Regions from separate parts of the Homo sapiens genome. Here all the other regions are linked to region 3. Evidence: promoter capture Hi-C in human tissues and cell types (Jung and others, 2019). All regions are on one chromosome and are shown on one strand. The core of a region is centred on a gene start or on the middle of the fragment in contact, and the rest is flanking DNA. Distances in the headings are between cores, read along the strand shown.

What was found. Contacts are between HindIII fragments. The study calls those that stand out against the background at their distance.
Region 1: the fragment with the promoter of RBM39 here is called in contact with a fragment that was not itself captured in region 3 in 2 of the 25 tissues and cell types used here (dorsolateral prefrontal cortex and spleen).
Region 2: a contact is called between the fragment with the promoter of GSS here and a fragment that was not itself captured in region 3, in 2 of the 25 tissues and cell types used here (dorsolateral prefrontal cortex and lymphoblastoid cells).

The regions. Positions count from the first base shown.
Region 1 is chr20:35,740,889-35,745,598 of GRCh38, reverse strand. It overlaps RBM39 (RNA binding motif protein 39), which reads left to right and starts at 3,339. Exons shown (of 17, transcript NM_184234.3): 1 at 3,339-3,658. RefSeq lists enhancers at 2,900-2,999, 3,170-3,389, 2,751-3,436, 3,450-3,599 and a silencer at 3,860-3,959. The HindIII fragment of the contact is 31,582 bases long and covers 1-4,710 here.
Region 2 is chr20:34,953,760-34,958,390 of GRCh38, reverse strand. GSS (glutathione synthetase) reads left to right here and starts at 2,585. Exons shown (of 13, transcript NM_000178.4): 1 at 2,585-2,664. It overlaps MYH7B (myosin heavy chain 7B), which reads right to left and starts at 2,523. Exons shown (of 45, transcript NM_020884.7): 1 at 2,384-2,523; 2 at 179-293. RefSeq lists enhancers at 2,258-2,437, 2,678-2,777. The HindIII fragment of the contact is 12,827 bases long and covers 1-4,631 here.
Region 3 is chr20:35,266,054-35,270,750 of GRCh38, reverse strand. All of the region lies in intron 2 of MMP24-AS1-EDEM2 (MMP24-AS1-EDEM2 readthrough), which reads left to right. MMP24 (matrix metallopeptidase 24) reads right to left here. Exons shown (of 9, transcript NM_006690.4): 6 at 3,332-3,546; 7 at 853-991. Among named protein-coding and RNA genes, the nearest start is that of MMP24-AS1-EDEM2, 9.7 kb to the left of the region's middle. The HindIII fragment of the contact is 9,806 bases long and covers 1-4,697 here.

The sequences.
Region 1 (4,710 bases), core at 2,090-4,589, 470 kb before region 3:
TCACATTTGAAGCCCAAATCTCTACAAAAAAAAATTTTTTTTTTGAGAAAGAGTTTCGCTCTTGTTGCCCAGGCTGGAGTGCAATGGCGTGATCTCGGCTCACTGCAACCTCCGCCTCTCAGGTTCAAGTGATTCTCCTGCCCCAGCCTCCCAAATAGATGGGATTACAGGCATGCGCCACCACGCCTGGCTAATTTTGTATTTTTAGTAGAGACGGGGTTTCTTTATGTTGGTCAGCCTGGTTGCAAACCCTCAATCTCAGGTGATCCACCTATCTCGGCCTCCCAAAGTGCTGGGATTATAGGAGTAAGTCATCACACCCAGCCCAAAAAATTTTTAAAAAATTAAGCTGGGCATGGTGATGTGCACTTGTTTTTCTAGCTAATTGGGAGGCTGAGCTGGGAGGATTGCTTGAGCCCAGGAATGCAAGGTTACAGTAATCTATGATGTTGCCACTGCACTTCAGCCTGTGGGACAGTGTGAGACCCTGTCTCAATTAAAAAACGAAACAATTCTACTTGCTGTAGATTGTTGGGGACAAAAAACAAAACAAAACCAAACCACATGTATCTGATAAACATATACATTTAAAATGTACCCTTAATAATTAAAAAATTAAAAATCCACATTGGTAAAATACATTTAGTTTTCAGCCAAATTCTCTAAGTATATTCATTACCTTTTTGGCTCTATTTCAAGCTCTATTCCTCCATCTTTTGAAAGCAAAATGATGAAAGGGGAATTAATTTACATAGAAAGTTCATGAACCAGAGTTAGTGAAGTTTTGTAAAGTGAATGAGAAGCATCTTATGTTCGTGATATTTTCTTTTGTGTTAAGAGACAGGGTCTTGCTCTGCAGCCCAGGCTGGGGTGAAGTGGCACGTGATTCTAGCTGACTGCAGTCTTGAAGTCCTGGGCCCAAGCTATCCTCCCATCTCAGCCTCCTGAGTAGTTGGAACTACAGACATGCATCACCACGTCTGGCTAATTTTAAATTTTTTGTAGAGACAGGGTCTTGCTATATTGTCCAGGCTGGTCTCAAACTCCTGGACTCAAGCAATCCTCCTGCCTTGGCCTCTCAAAGTGCTGGGATAACAGGCCATGAGCCGCCATGCCTGGGGATATTTTCTTTTAAACATAAAAAATACTTGTTTCAGAAACTTGATTTTTCCAAACGGCTTTTCTTGATGATCTGCTAAGTTGCCATATTGCCTCTGATGGTCCTTGAGCAGAAAACTATTTAAGGGACCTTAAATCATCAAGCGACTTAGAGCTTAAATCCTTCCTCTTCCCAAACAAGAAGTCTAGCGGTTAAGGTCAAATTCTGTCATGTCATGTTCCTAAACAAACAAGAAAAACCAAGTGCCATCTTCATGCTTTCATTTTGCACTAGTCATAATACTGGAATTACCGAGGGGCAGGAAGAGATAGCAAAGGTTAGCTTGCTTTATTTCTGACATATTATGCTTCAATTTCCTGTGACAGTTTTCTTTTCTTTCTTTTTCTTTCTTTTTTTTTTGAGATGGAGTCTCGATCTCTGTCACCCAGGCTGGAGTGCAATGGCATGATCTCAGCTCACTGCAACCTCTGCCTCCCAGGTTCAAGTGATTCTCCTGCCTCAGCCTCCCGAGTAGCTGGGAATTGCAGGCGCCTGCCACCTAGTTTTTTTTTTATTTTTAGTAGAGACAGGGTTTCGCCATGTTGGTCAGGTCTTGAACTCCTGACCTCAGGCGGTCCACCCGCGTCGGCCTCCCAAAGTGCTGGGATTAGATGCATGAGCCACTGCGCCCAGCCTCCAGAGCGAGACTGTCTCAGAAATAAAATAAAAAGAGGATCTGAATTTTCAGAAAAAGGATTAAGGGAGTATTCTAACTACAAAATAACTGTTATTAATAATCCTCTAAGATAAATCCTAACCTGTGTGTAAAGTTAACCTGAGAGGCAAAACCACTTAACATCTATATTTGCTCTAAATAATTTTGTTTAGCAGAAACAGAAGTTAGCTGTTTTGAAGATCAAATATTTACCAGGCGTTTTACAGACATTATATCATTTAATCTTCACTATAGCCCTTCTGAGCCTTCATTCATTAATTTACTGAGGGTCCACTTGGGCAGACATGCCCTGCTAACCTCTAAAAATTCAGTACTGAGCATTACCTGCCTTCCTCAGTCTCAAGTAGCTTAGACTAGCTACTAAGTACGTCCTCTTTTAAATCAGGAAATGAAAGATCCCCTCTGAGAGGTTAATTTGCTTGTCCAAGGTCACACAGTGTTGCAGCAGCTAGTTACACTAATCAAGGCGTCTCATTTCCAATCTTTTCTGCCCTCAATCATTAGACTGTTAAGATTAGAGGGTAAGATTTTTGCTTTGAAGACTTCTTTCCAGTTTTTTTTCCCAGCATCTAGGAGGAAACCTCACACAGTACTGACCAAAGAACAAATGGCTAATTCATACTCTAATTACCTGGCATCTAGAAGACTTCAGGGGAGAGGAGCCAGGTCCCAGGGGGAAGGGGGCCTTTTTTTTTTTGTTGGGGGGGTGTCTTATTTTTTCACCAAATCGTCCAGTAATATTCAGGAAGGGGAACATTTTTGAAGGAACGGTAGCAACCCTGACACAAGAGCTGATTAAATTCGGGGCACAAAACTGATCCCATGCCAAGGGAAGCAAGAGTTTATTTTTTCCACCTTTTTTTTGCTTTTCTCCACTATTTCCAAGGTTGTTTCAAAGCTCGACAGTGGAGGCCGCGCCATTGGCTCCAAATGACAGGGAAATCTATTTTTATTATCTCCCCCTCTCCCCCTACCCCTAAAGATCTCTTCTTCTGGCCTTCTGATACACTTTTCCACTTCCTCTCCACCCTCAGCGGATAATCTGAATATGGCCGTTTTATCCTATCGCCATAAGGACTAGGTTGCCTTATGGCGACCTTGACAGCCATCTGTGTGGGAGGCCGGAGCGGGGGCGATCGGCTGTGCCGGAGGAATCTTCAGATGGCCGTGAGGAGGCGCCACGAGGGGGAGGTGACCGCTGAGCTCCACTCAGCGAAGAGCTCTCTGAAAGATTGACAGGCAGCCTACCAACTGTCTTTGCCCTAGAGACCCGCTCTGTCTCGCGAGATTTGGGTGCTTACGCGGAGGGGGAGTGAAAGGCGCCTCACTGAATGGGGGATGGGAATATCTGTGGCGCAATCATTGCGCGAGATTGGGCTACGGTCGCCGGAGCCATACTTAGGTCTCGCGATACTTCGGCCGCTCAAATTTGGAGCTTGGGGCAGCTTCTCGCGAGAGCCCGTGCTGAGGGCTCTGTGAGGCCCCGTGTGTTTGTGTGTGTGTATGTGTGCTGGTGAATGTGAGTACAGGGAAGCAGCGGCCGCCATTTCAGGGAGCTTGTCGACGCTGTCGCAGGGGTGGATCCTGAGCTGCCGAAGCCGCCGTCCTGCTCTCCCGCGTGGGCTTCTCTAATTCCATTGTTTTTTTTAGATTCTCTCGGGCCTAGCCGTCCTTGGAACCCGATATTCGGGCTGGGCGGTTCCGCGGCCTGGGCCTAGGGGCTTAACAGTAGCAACAGAAGCGGCGGCGGCGGCAGCAGCAGCAGCAGCAGCAGCAATCTCTTCCCGAACACGAGCACCACAGGCGCCCGAAGGCCGGAACAGGTACGGGGCGTTGCGGACCCGCGTATTATCTCAGCTTTCTCGAGGTTTGGCTCCATTTTGGGCTGAGGGGCGCTTTTGGAGGTCTTTAGCGACCGGGGTGGGGGGTGGTTTTCGAGAAATCGGCCCTGTTTCAGTGACCGCGCCCTTATTTTCCAGTCGGGTATAGTCTGGATTCTTGGGGCGGTAGGGACCCCCGAGAGGCCGCGGTAGAATGGTGACCTGTCTCCTTCGAGGCCTGGGCCGGCCGCGACCTCCCAACATGGCGCCAGTTGAACGCTGCCTTGGCTCATAACCCCTCCCAATGGAGGGAGTTTCTCTTTGCCCCTAAAATGGCAGCGCGGGTTTTTGCCCGGAAAGAGGCGCTCTCGTTCGGGTCTCCCAGTTTCTGTTTTTGGAGTTGACAGCAGAGTTTTAAATATTGGATATTGAAGTCTTCATTTTCGTGTGTTTCGTGTAAGAGGCGTTTTGGATTTACTTACGTAAGCCAAACCTGGTTAAAGTGCATGTCACTTTAGTCATTAATTGTAGGGCTTTTGGAGGTTTTTCTTAAGTTTTCGAGTGTGTCGGCTGAGAAGAAAAATTCAGTCGATTTGAAAAACGTTTACCAGGCCGGGCGCGGTGGCTCACGCCTGTAATCCCAGCAGTTTGGGAGGCAGAGGCAGGCGGATCACTTGAGGTTAGGAGTTCGAGACCAACCTCATCAACATGGTGAAACCCCGTCTCTACCAAAAATACAAAAATTAGCCGGGCGTGGTGGCAGGCGCCTGTGATCCCAGCTATTCGGGAGGTGAGGTGGTAGGATCGCTGGAACCTGGGAGGCGGAGCTTGCAGTGAGCCGAGATCGCGCTACTGCACTTCAGCCTGGGCAACTAGAGCGAAACTCCGTCTCAAAAAAAAAAAAAAAAAAAAAGAAAAATGTTTACTCACGGAATCGTCTTGTTCTTTTCCTAGGCGTTTAGAGAAAATGTTAGACGATATAGGCAACAAGAGTGAAACTTGTTTCACATTGTAAGAGAAATGTTTACTCAAGAAATTGTCTTGTTCTCTTCCTA
Region 2 (4,631 bases), core at 1,336-3,835, 310 kb after region 3:
GATTTTGGAGGAAAGCACCCAGGCAGAGAGTGCAGAAAGGGCAAACGCTCCCTGGAAAGATTCTTAGTCAAGAGTCCTTCACTCCCAGTCCTACCACAAACTGGGTCACCTTGAACAAGTCACGTAACTTCTGAGGCTCAGCTGCCACATCTACAAAATGGGAATAAAGACATCTTACCTGCCACATTGTGAGAGGTTTCAACCAAAGGGCTGTTAAGGTCTGGGATCCTCCCCAAATCTCACCATAGACACCTGATACTCATCACTTGGCACCCGTCTTGGAAGAGGGGAACCTGCACAGAGAACCCTGGGTCATGCTTTTGATTTTTAATTTCATGCTGCACTAGAAATAGCTTCTTTTGTTCCTGGTTGACCCAGGAGCCTCTTCCTGCCACCTGGGGCCTATTCTAGTTAACAGCTGCTTATCCCCTCAGGTACAAAAGCCAACGAGGAAAGGACATCAGGAAACATTGTTCTGGGAATAACCAGACACCTATCTGCCACCATCTCCCCCCATCCCGTGACCACACACGGGAGACTGGAGGACTCAGCCTGTCCTGTAGTCAGATAATGTACATGGTTTATTTAAAGAGTCAAAAGGGGCCGGGCGCAGTGGCTAACGCCTGTAATCCTAGCACTCTGGGAGGCTGGGGCGGGTGGATCACCTGAGCTCAAGAGTTTCAGACCAATCTGGCCAACATGGTGAAACCCTGTCTCTACCAAAAATACAAAAATTAGCCGGGTGTGGTGGTGGACGCCTGTAATCCCAGCTACTTGGGAGGCTGAGGCAGGAGAATTGCTTGAACCTGGGAAGTGGAGGTTGCAGTGAGCTGAGATCGTGCCACTGCACTCCAGCCTGGGCAACAACAACGAAAACTCCGTCTCAAAAAAAAAAAAAAAAAAAAAGAGTCAAAAGGATCTTGGTCCCTGGGTTGGGCCACTGATTTACGATCACTAGGAGTTCTCACTCCTAAATTTCTTTGATCTGTTCGCTTCGCTCCATCTCCACAGCTGCTGCACTGGCTACAGCCTCATGATCTCACATCTTAACTCTCTCTGCTTTCTCTGGCCCATCTCCCCACTTCCAAACCATTTGTCACGCTGTAACCAGTGCCTAACACACAAAACTAACCATGTCCTTCCCCTGCTTAAAGCCCTTAGCTCCTGTTGCTCAGTGGAACTGGCGTCTGAGGCTACCTCTCCAAGCCTAAGCGCCTAAGTCCTGTTGCAACCCTCAGGCCCTTCCTCATTATCCACACCAAACTCCTCAGTGTCTGTAAAACAAGCCGAGCAACCCTCAGAATTATATGCCTTCGCTGCTCGTTTGTTTTGTTTTTAGGACAGGGTCTCACGCTGTCACCCAGGCAGGAGTGCTGCAGCGTGATCTCAGCTCACAGCAGCCTCCGTCTCCGGGGCTCAAGAATTCTCACGCCGCAGCCTCCCGAGTAGCTGGGATTACAGGCACGGGCCAACACACCCGGCTAATTCTTGTATTTCTAGTAGAGACGGGGTTTCGCCATGTTGCCCAGCCTGGTCTCCAACTCCTGAGCTCAAGTAATCCACCTGCCTCGGCCTCTCAAAGTGCTGGGATTACAGGTCTGAGCCACTGCACCCAGCCAGCCTTTGCTGCTTTTGTTCCTGCAATTTGGAACACTGTCCCCATCCCAGCCTCTCACCTCTACCCCTACCTCCTTCACTACCTATACCTTCCTATCCATCCTTCAAGACCCCAAAAACCATCCCTGATTCCTTCAGAAAGGCAGTTTATTGCCTATCTTATCAGACTGAAAGCAGTGGCTGTGTCTTATTTATGGTTAATTCCCTAGAAGCTGGACTGATACATTCCATTTAACTAAAATTCGTATCAGGTGCTTCGGACTGCAGACAAGCCTATCACAACCCAGAAGGAAGAAACAGGGAAGGCACCTGGGGGCTGCCAAGCAATGAGGTGGGGGGTAGGAATCATGAATCCGCATATTTTTAAAAACTGCCCCAGATCCTGATGTAAACGGTACAAGAGAGTCTGAGAAACACAGGGCTCCCCTCAAACAGTCCTGACTTCAGCATTCCTGGAAAAATGAAAATCCTTTCCTTTTGCCTCTAATGCTTTCCCTGCTGGTATCCCAGGTTAAAAAAAAATAGATAAAATCAGGGGGATTTTTCTGGGACTTGGCTGGGCTGGGAAACAAGCCTGGGTTCTAATACAGGCTCAGCCCCTGACGTACTATGGGCCCCTGCCCCTCCTTGGGGCCTCCATTACCACGGCCACCCCCACCCTTATCAATTGTGTGCCCCTGAGGTAGTGACTGTCCCGCTCTGAGCATTAGTTTCCCCATCTTCCACTAGTCGTCGTCAGCTCTGACGCTCTATGAGCTATGCATACCCGTAGCTCCCCGCCGACCCCGATGGTCCCCTCCCCTCCTTCCCAAGGTCCATCCGCCAGGGTGCAGCCGACGCACTCCTAATGCTAAGGCCGCCCTCTCATCGACCGCCCCTTCCTGGCCTCGACTCAGCGCCAAAGGTATGGGTCTCTGCCCCGCCTGCTCTTTAAGCCTAGCCGGGGCGGTCAGCGCAAGCGCACTGGGTCGCATCGAGGCCCCGCCCCCTGAGCCTGGGTAGCGGCGCGAGGGCCGGGAGAACCGTTCGCGGAGGAAAGGCGAACTAGTAGGTTGGGGCGGCCACGGCGGCCGGCATGGGTCACGTTTCCTCGGGAGGAACGATGTGAGGGAGGGGTCTGGCAAGAGATTGGAATTCCGGAGGCCGGGAGACCTTGTGGCTGAAACCCTTCGTAGGAGCGGGGCAACTAGTGTCTAGTGAGGGGGTTGGGCTGGCGCGCACTGATCCCAGACTTTCCGGATCTTCTGCCTTTAGATCGGGCCGGTGTCGGGGCATGTAGGCCAGTGAGACTGGAGCCAGTTAGAGCTACAACGGGGAGCGATTAGGGCCAAACTTTGTCCAGGGTGGAAGCGAGCGGGCCCGTGAAGTGGGGCCAGCCTGGGCAGCCGACCGTGTCGTTGCCTCGGGGCCTTTCCAGGCACTGGCCTAAGTCCTGGCGATAAAGTGCGACCGATTTCCTTGTGGGCGTTTTGAGGCTTTCGGTGATCTGACCCGTCTGTCATTCATTCTTCATTCATTCATGTGATGAATGAATACAGTACTAAGCGCGGCTAATTACTAGGTAGAGAAGTGATCAAGACAAACACTGTTCCTACGGTACAGGGAAAAGTGATGGGCTGTAGAATGTAGAAGCCCGGGGCGGAGAACAGGGACAGCTTCCGGAACGAAATCGCGAGCCCAGATCAGGAGTGGTGGCGAGAGTTCCAAAGAGAAGACAGCACGTGCCAAGTCCTGGAAGGGGGACAGAGGCCAACATATCCTGGTCACTGAAGACACCTGACTCTGAATCTGTTTCACGCCCAGGGAAGAGATGACAGTGGCCGGGGCTAGGCTACAAACTCTGGAAATGGAGATAAATAAAGGAATTCAAAGTACTATATACTTAGGCAGCAAAATCCATAGGATTTGGGGAGAGTGAGATGTAGGAAACAAGTACTCAAGGCTTGGGTACCTGGGTGGGGTTCATCAGAGAAGAAGCAGATTTGTGGGAGACAACAACAAATTCTATTCTGGTTGTATGGAGACTCGCAGGAAAAAATTGGATATTCTAGTTTGAAGGTAGGAAAGTATTGCTGTGAAGATGTAGATTTGAATGTCATCAGCAAAACATAAATAAAGCCAAGGGAGGGTTGAGGCTGTAGAATGAGAAAAACAAAGGGCCCACTTAGCACCTTCATCTGATTTCTTTTCTTTCTTTCTTTTTTTCTTTTTTTTTTTTTTTGACAGAGCTTTGCTCTTGTTGCCCAGGCTGGAGTGCAATGGCACGATCTCGGCTCACTACAACCTCCACCTCCTGGGTTCAAGCTATTCTCCTGCCTCAGCCTCCCAAGTAGCTCGGATTACAGGCATGCGCCACCAGGCCCGGCTAATTTTGTATTTTTAGTAGAGATGGGGTTTCTCCATGTTGGTGAGGCTGGTCTCGAACTCCCGACCTCGGGTGATCCGCCTGCCTCGGCCTCACAAAGTGCTGGGATTACACGAGTGAGCCACCACACCTGGCCCATGGTGATTATCTTTATGTCTTATCCTCCTCCATATCCCCAGTACCTAGTCAAGGGAGTGGCATTAAATGCAAATCAGTGTTTGCCAACTAAATAAAAGCCCAACAGCAAACAGATGTTGGAATTTCAGAGTTGTGGAACGATGGGGGCTCATGGAGGGTTTCATTACTCTAATGTCAAGGTAATGGGTTCTTGTCCTGGCTCTGCCACTAGGCTTCTGTGTGACCTCTGACAAGTCTCCTCCTACCTATAAAGAGAGTACAGCCAAAAAATGGTCTCATGTATAGAGCTTCAAACACTGCTGATAAATTTCACACTGATTTTTCTCTTTTAATCCACACAGCAATCTTACTTGAAAGGGAAGTCGGCTGGGCGGGGTGGCTCACGCCTGTAATCCCAGCACTTTGGGAGGCCGAGAGTGGGGGATCACGAGATCGAGACCATCCTGGCTAACACGGTGAAACCCCGTCTCTACTAAAAATACAAAAAATTAGCCGGGCATGGTGGCAGGTG
Region 3 (4,697 bases), core at 2,198-4,697:
CAGCCACTTCTGAGGCCCTCTGACTCTCCTGGCAGCTGTCCCCTGCCCTTCAGCTGCACGGCTCCTCCCTCATTTGGGCCTCATGAGTGGCGCGCTCCAGAACCACCTCAGAAATGGCTGCCCTGCCCCTGCCATGTCTGTCACCTCCTGCCCTCTGGCTCTCTGCTGCTCGGAAACATTCCATGAATTTCCAGCCTTGGCCTAATGGATCAAGACCACATTCTGGCCTGGCAGCCAGGGCTCTTCAGGATTTGCCTCCAAATGACCTTTCTGGGCCATTTCTCACAGCTTTCCAAGGCGGGGCCTCCGTGGCCATCAGGTGGGCCTTCTAAGCCCTGTGGCCGTCCGTACACATCCCAGCCCTGCTCCTTTATTCAGCCGTTGTCCCTCTGGAATGCCTTCCTTGCTTCTCACTATCTGTATCTCACCCATCTGAGGTCTGGCCCGAGTCAAGATAACTGTCATGAAACAACCTAGCACAGTGCTGGGTACAGGGTGGGCACCTTAGCTCCCTCCCACACCCTCCCCCGACCTCCCCAGCTTGAGTGACCTCTTCCCTCTGGGTTCTTACAGAACTGACCCGATGGCCTCCCATGAGGTACTGGGTGGTCTTCAATTGCTTGTCCCACACTCTACTTCATGTGGACGAAGCTGGTCACCCCACCAATCTCGGCACATACAGATTCTCAGTCTCACTTTCTGACTTGATTTGTCAGAGGTCAGTGTCTCCGTTAGACTAGAGGGGCCCTCTGAGGACATCTGCCTCCCACCCCGCCTCTTCCAGTTTAGATGGGAAAAAGGAGGTCCCAAGACCTTGGGCAGGGAACTGTCCCACAGCACAGTCTACATTACCTTTGAAGAAGACAAATCTCCCATCGGCCCTTTCATAGGCTGCGTCGATGCGGGCAGGCAGGCCCTTCCAGAACTGCTCGATCTGCATGGGGTAGCCCTCCTGCACTCGGTTATTGCGCAGACGCCAGAACCAGCGATCCTGGGAGGAAGCGGGAGAGGGGGAGAGAGGTGTGTCAGGCCCTGCCTCCGAACCCAGTGATTGCAGCTGTGGGGCTTAGGTCCCAACAGCCCAGCCCTCCACCGAGACTGTCCATTAGCTGCTTCTGACTTTTAAAGCCCTGGGAGGAAGACAGGATGCTCCTGTAACTGTCTTCAATTCAGCCTCCTGCTGACTCTTGCTGCTGGGTGGACAATGAGACAAACAGCAGACAGGCCTGGTGTGGAAAAGGAGGTGTGAGGGAGCCGGAAAGGATGATGTTGGGGCCTGGAGTGGCCACATGGGGGCAGTGGAGCGTCACTGACATCAGCCAGACTGGTCCTCGGGACAGTGGGAGGCTGGGGTGGTCACTGAGCCTGGGCCGAGCGCCCTCCATGAGGCTGGCTCCATCCAGCAGGGCCAGGATCATGGAAGCCAAGTCATGGGAATTCCCTCGAGACCTGGGCATGAATTCACATTCCTCCATTTATAGCTGCATGACCTAGGCCTCACCTGCAAGTGCAGGTAATAATGGAGAATCAGATGAGAGATTCTAGGCAAAATGCCCAGACCAGTACGGGGCACACAGTCCATGTTGAGTAAATGGCAGCTAAATAGTCCGAGTCCAGTAAAAACGCCTCTTGTAACTGGTGCCTCAGTCTTGGGCTGGTACACAAGCAGTCTAGGCAAGGCCTGTAGCCTCCAGGCCTCAGTTTTCTTTCTTTTTTTTTTTTTTTAGATGGAGTCTCGCTCTGTCACCCAGGCTGGAGTGCAGTGGCGCAATCTCGGCTCACTGCAAGCTCCGCCTCCCAGGTTCATGCTATTCTCCTGCCTCAGCCTCCTGAGTAGCTGGGACTACAGGCGCCCGCCACCACACCCGGCTAATTTTTTATATTTTTAGTAGAGATGGGGTTTCACCATGTTAGCCAGGATGGTCTTGATCTCCTGACCTTATGATCCGCCCTCCTTGGCCTCCCAAAGTGTTGGGATTGCAAGGCGTGAGCCACTGCGCCCAGCCTCCAGGCCTCAGTTTTCTTATGTGTAAATGGGGATGATAAAACCCGGACCTGCCTATGAACGGTTCAGTTGGATCAAAGTAGAATGAGTGCAGAAGAAGAAGCATGATTTGTAAAAGATGGTACAAAAGCTAGTATTTTAAAAGGTGTTTTACAAAGCACTTTCACATCCAGGTTTTTGACCTTATTTTGACTTTCATGTCTCTGTTAAGTTGATCTGAGATATACGGAGTCTTAAGAAAGGCCAGGTGACTTGCCTAGAGCCACTCAGTGAGAAGCCAGACTGGGGCTGACTCACGCTGCCCGATTCCTGCGCAGTGCTCAGTGCGTGCTGGGAGAACTCCACAAGGGGAGCGAGGCAGCCTCTTTCACCATCCTGTGTGATGGAGCCACCCTGCCCAGATCCCCTTCAGAGAAGGGCTTGTTGCCCCAGTGGCCAGCAGTGTGGCCAGCAGGCAGTTTTCAACTGTCAGCCCCTTTGGGGATGTTCCCTGCTTCAGAGAGCTCTCCTCAGTCACTGGATGCCCTTCCTCATCCAGTGATTGAATGAGGTAGGGGTTATAATGTTCCAGATATTTTGGACCCAACGTAGGCTGAGTGACAGGCCACCGTAGCCCCAGAGCTCCCTGCGGGGGTGGCTGAGGCTGCCATGGGCCTCTGTTGCCACTTAACCTCTCCCTCTTCCCTGTCCTGCTTCCTTCTCCCCCTCACAAATGTTGATTCTGAAAGTACTCTCTAATCGAAATCCTGCATTCCAGACCCCACCTCAGAGTTCACTCCCCGAGAGCCCAACCTGCAACACGTCAAGCAGACTGCCACCCTGTCAGTCCATGGCTGATGGAGGACAGATGACAAGATATACCCTGGGCTGCTGCCAGTAGCAGCCCCTCAAGCCTTGGTAGGGTCTGGAGTCAGACTCAGCCACCACTGACCTAGCCCCTACTCCAAGTTGACCATCTTCAGAGCCGGGTACTCACTGGATCTTCACACACTCTTTGTTAGAGGAATGACTCCCCCAGGTTTCGGATGGAGAAACTGAGGTCCCAAGAAGGGTGGTCACAGACCAGAAGCCAGCTTCCAGCACTTTCTCCCAGCATTAACCCCAGGGGAGGTGAGGGATCACCCATCTTTCCCCCTCCCTCTTGGGAACAGTTGATTCACCCAGCAGCACTAGGAAGAGACCCCATGCCCTGGCCACTGGGCTAGCTCCTGTCCAGGCCCCATTGTAATCGAATCCCAAATCAGGAGCCTTCCCCAGCTCCATGATGTCGGGGAGGAGGAGGAAAGGTCAGGGGCCAGCTGGGTGGTGCCAATCCATTGGCCCTACCTTAAAGACAAACATCTCGCCCCGGAAGAGGGCCACTGTGTTGAAGTTGCCGTCACAGATGTTGGGTTTGGTGCCTGGTGTGGATGGCCGGTCCCCGAGGGGCGGCCGAGGGGGCCTGGGCTGGCGCTCGTGTTTCCTCTCCGATGGTGAGTGGATCCTGCGGACGGGGAGTGTAGGGAGTGGCCTTGTGGGCTCCAGAGGCTCGGCTGGGGGTCCTGGAGAGAGGAGCTGCATCTTAGAGAGGGGGCAGCCGTTTCCCGCCTCCCATTGCCAGTCTCAGCATCACCCAGGCAGCTCTGAGACAAGTCTGTCCCAGTTCAGCCTCCTGTTCCCTCTCCCCAGTTTAACTCCCCCAGTCTTTGAGAAAATGGATGAAAATAGCCATTAGAATGGGACTCTCATCTTTCCATCCCCGAATCTGGTATCTTCTCTTTTCTCTCTCCTGTTACAGAGCAATCATGTCCTTCCTTAGGGTCAGCGCTCTTCCTTAGGCCATACCCTCTTTGCCCCCTTCACACGCACTGGCCCCACTTCCTCACCCCCTTCATTTATTCTCTTTCCCACCCCAGTGCAGCTTCTACCCGTCACCCACTCCAACTGCTCTGCCAAGATCATCCAATGGTTACTTGACTCAGACTTTAATAAGCACATGCATCATCTGGGGATGTTGCTAAAATGCAGATGAGGGCTCAGAGGGCCTGGGGTGGGGCCTGAGAGTTTGCATTCCTTCACACTCTCAGGTGATGCTGATGCTGCTGGTCTGAAGACTACATTTTGAGCAGCAAGATTCATAGAAACACTTTCCTGGAAACACTCTCTTGGTTGTCCTCCTGCCTCATGGGCTGTTCTTTCTCAGTCTCCTTTGCTGGCTGCGTGTCCTCATCTGCCCTACTCTAGAGGCTGGCGTGCCCTTGGGTCCTCTTCTCTTCCGTCTCTACATTTTCATCCTTAGGTCAGTGCTTCTTCACTTGGGCTGCATATTAGGATCACCTTTGGGAGCTTTTCAAACTGGATGTTCAGGAAGCACCAGGCCAGCTCTCCAACTTTTTTTTTTTTTTTTTTTTTTTTGAGAAGGAGTCTCGCTCCGTCCCCCATGCTGGAGTGCAGTGGCGTGATCTAAGCTCACTGCAACCTCTGCCTCCCAGGTTCAAGTGATTCTCCTGCCTCATCCTCCCAAGTAGCTGGGACTACAGGCACGTACCACCACACCCAGGTGATTTTTTTTTTTTTTTTTTTTTTTTTTTAGCAGAGATGGGGTTTCACCATGTTGACCAGGCTGGTCTTGAACTCCTGACCTCAAGTGATCCACCCACCTTGGCCTCCCAAAGTGCTGGGATTACAGGCGTGAGCCACCACGCCCAATACC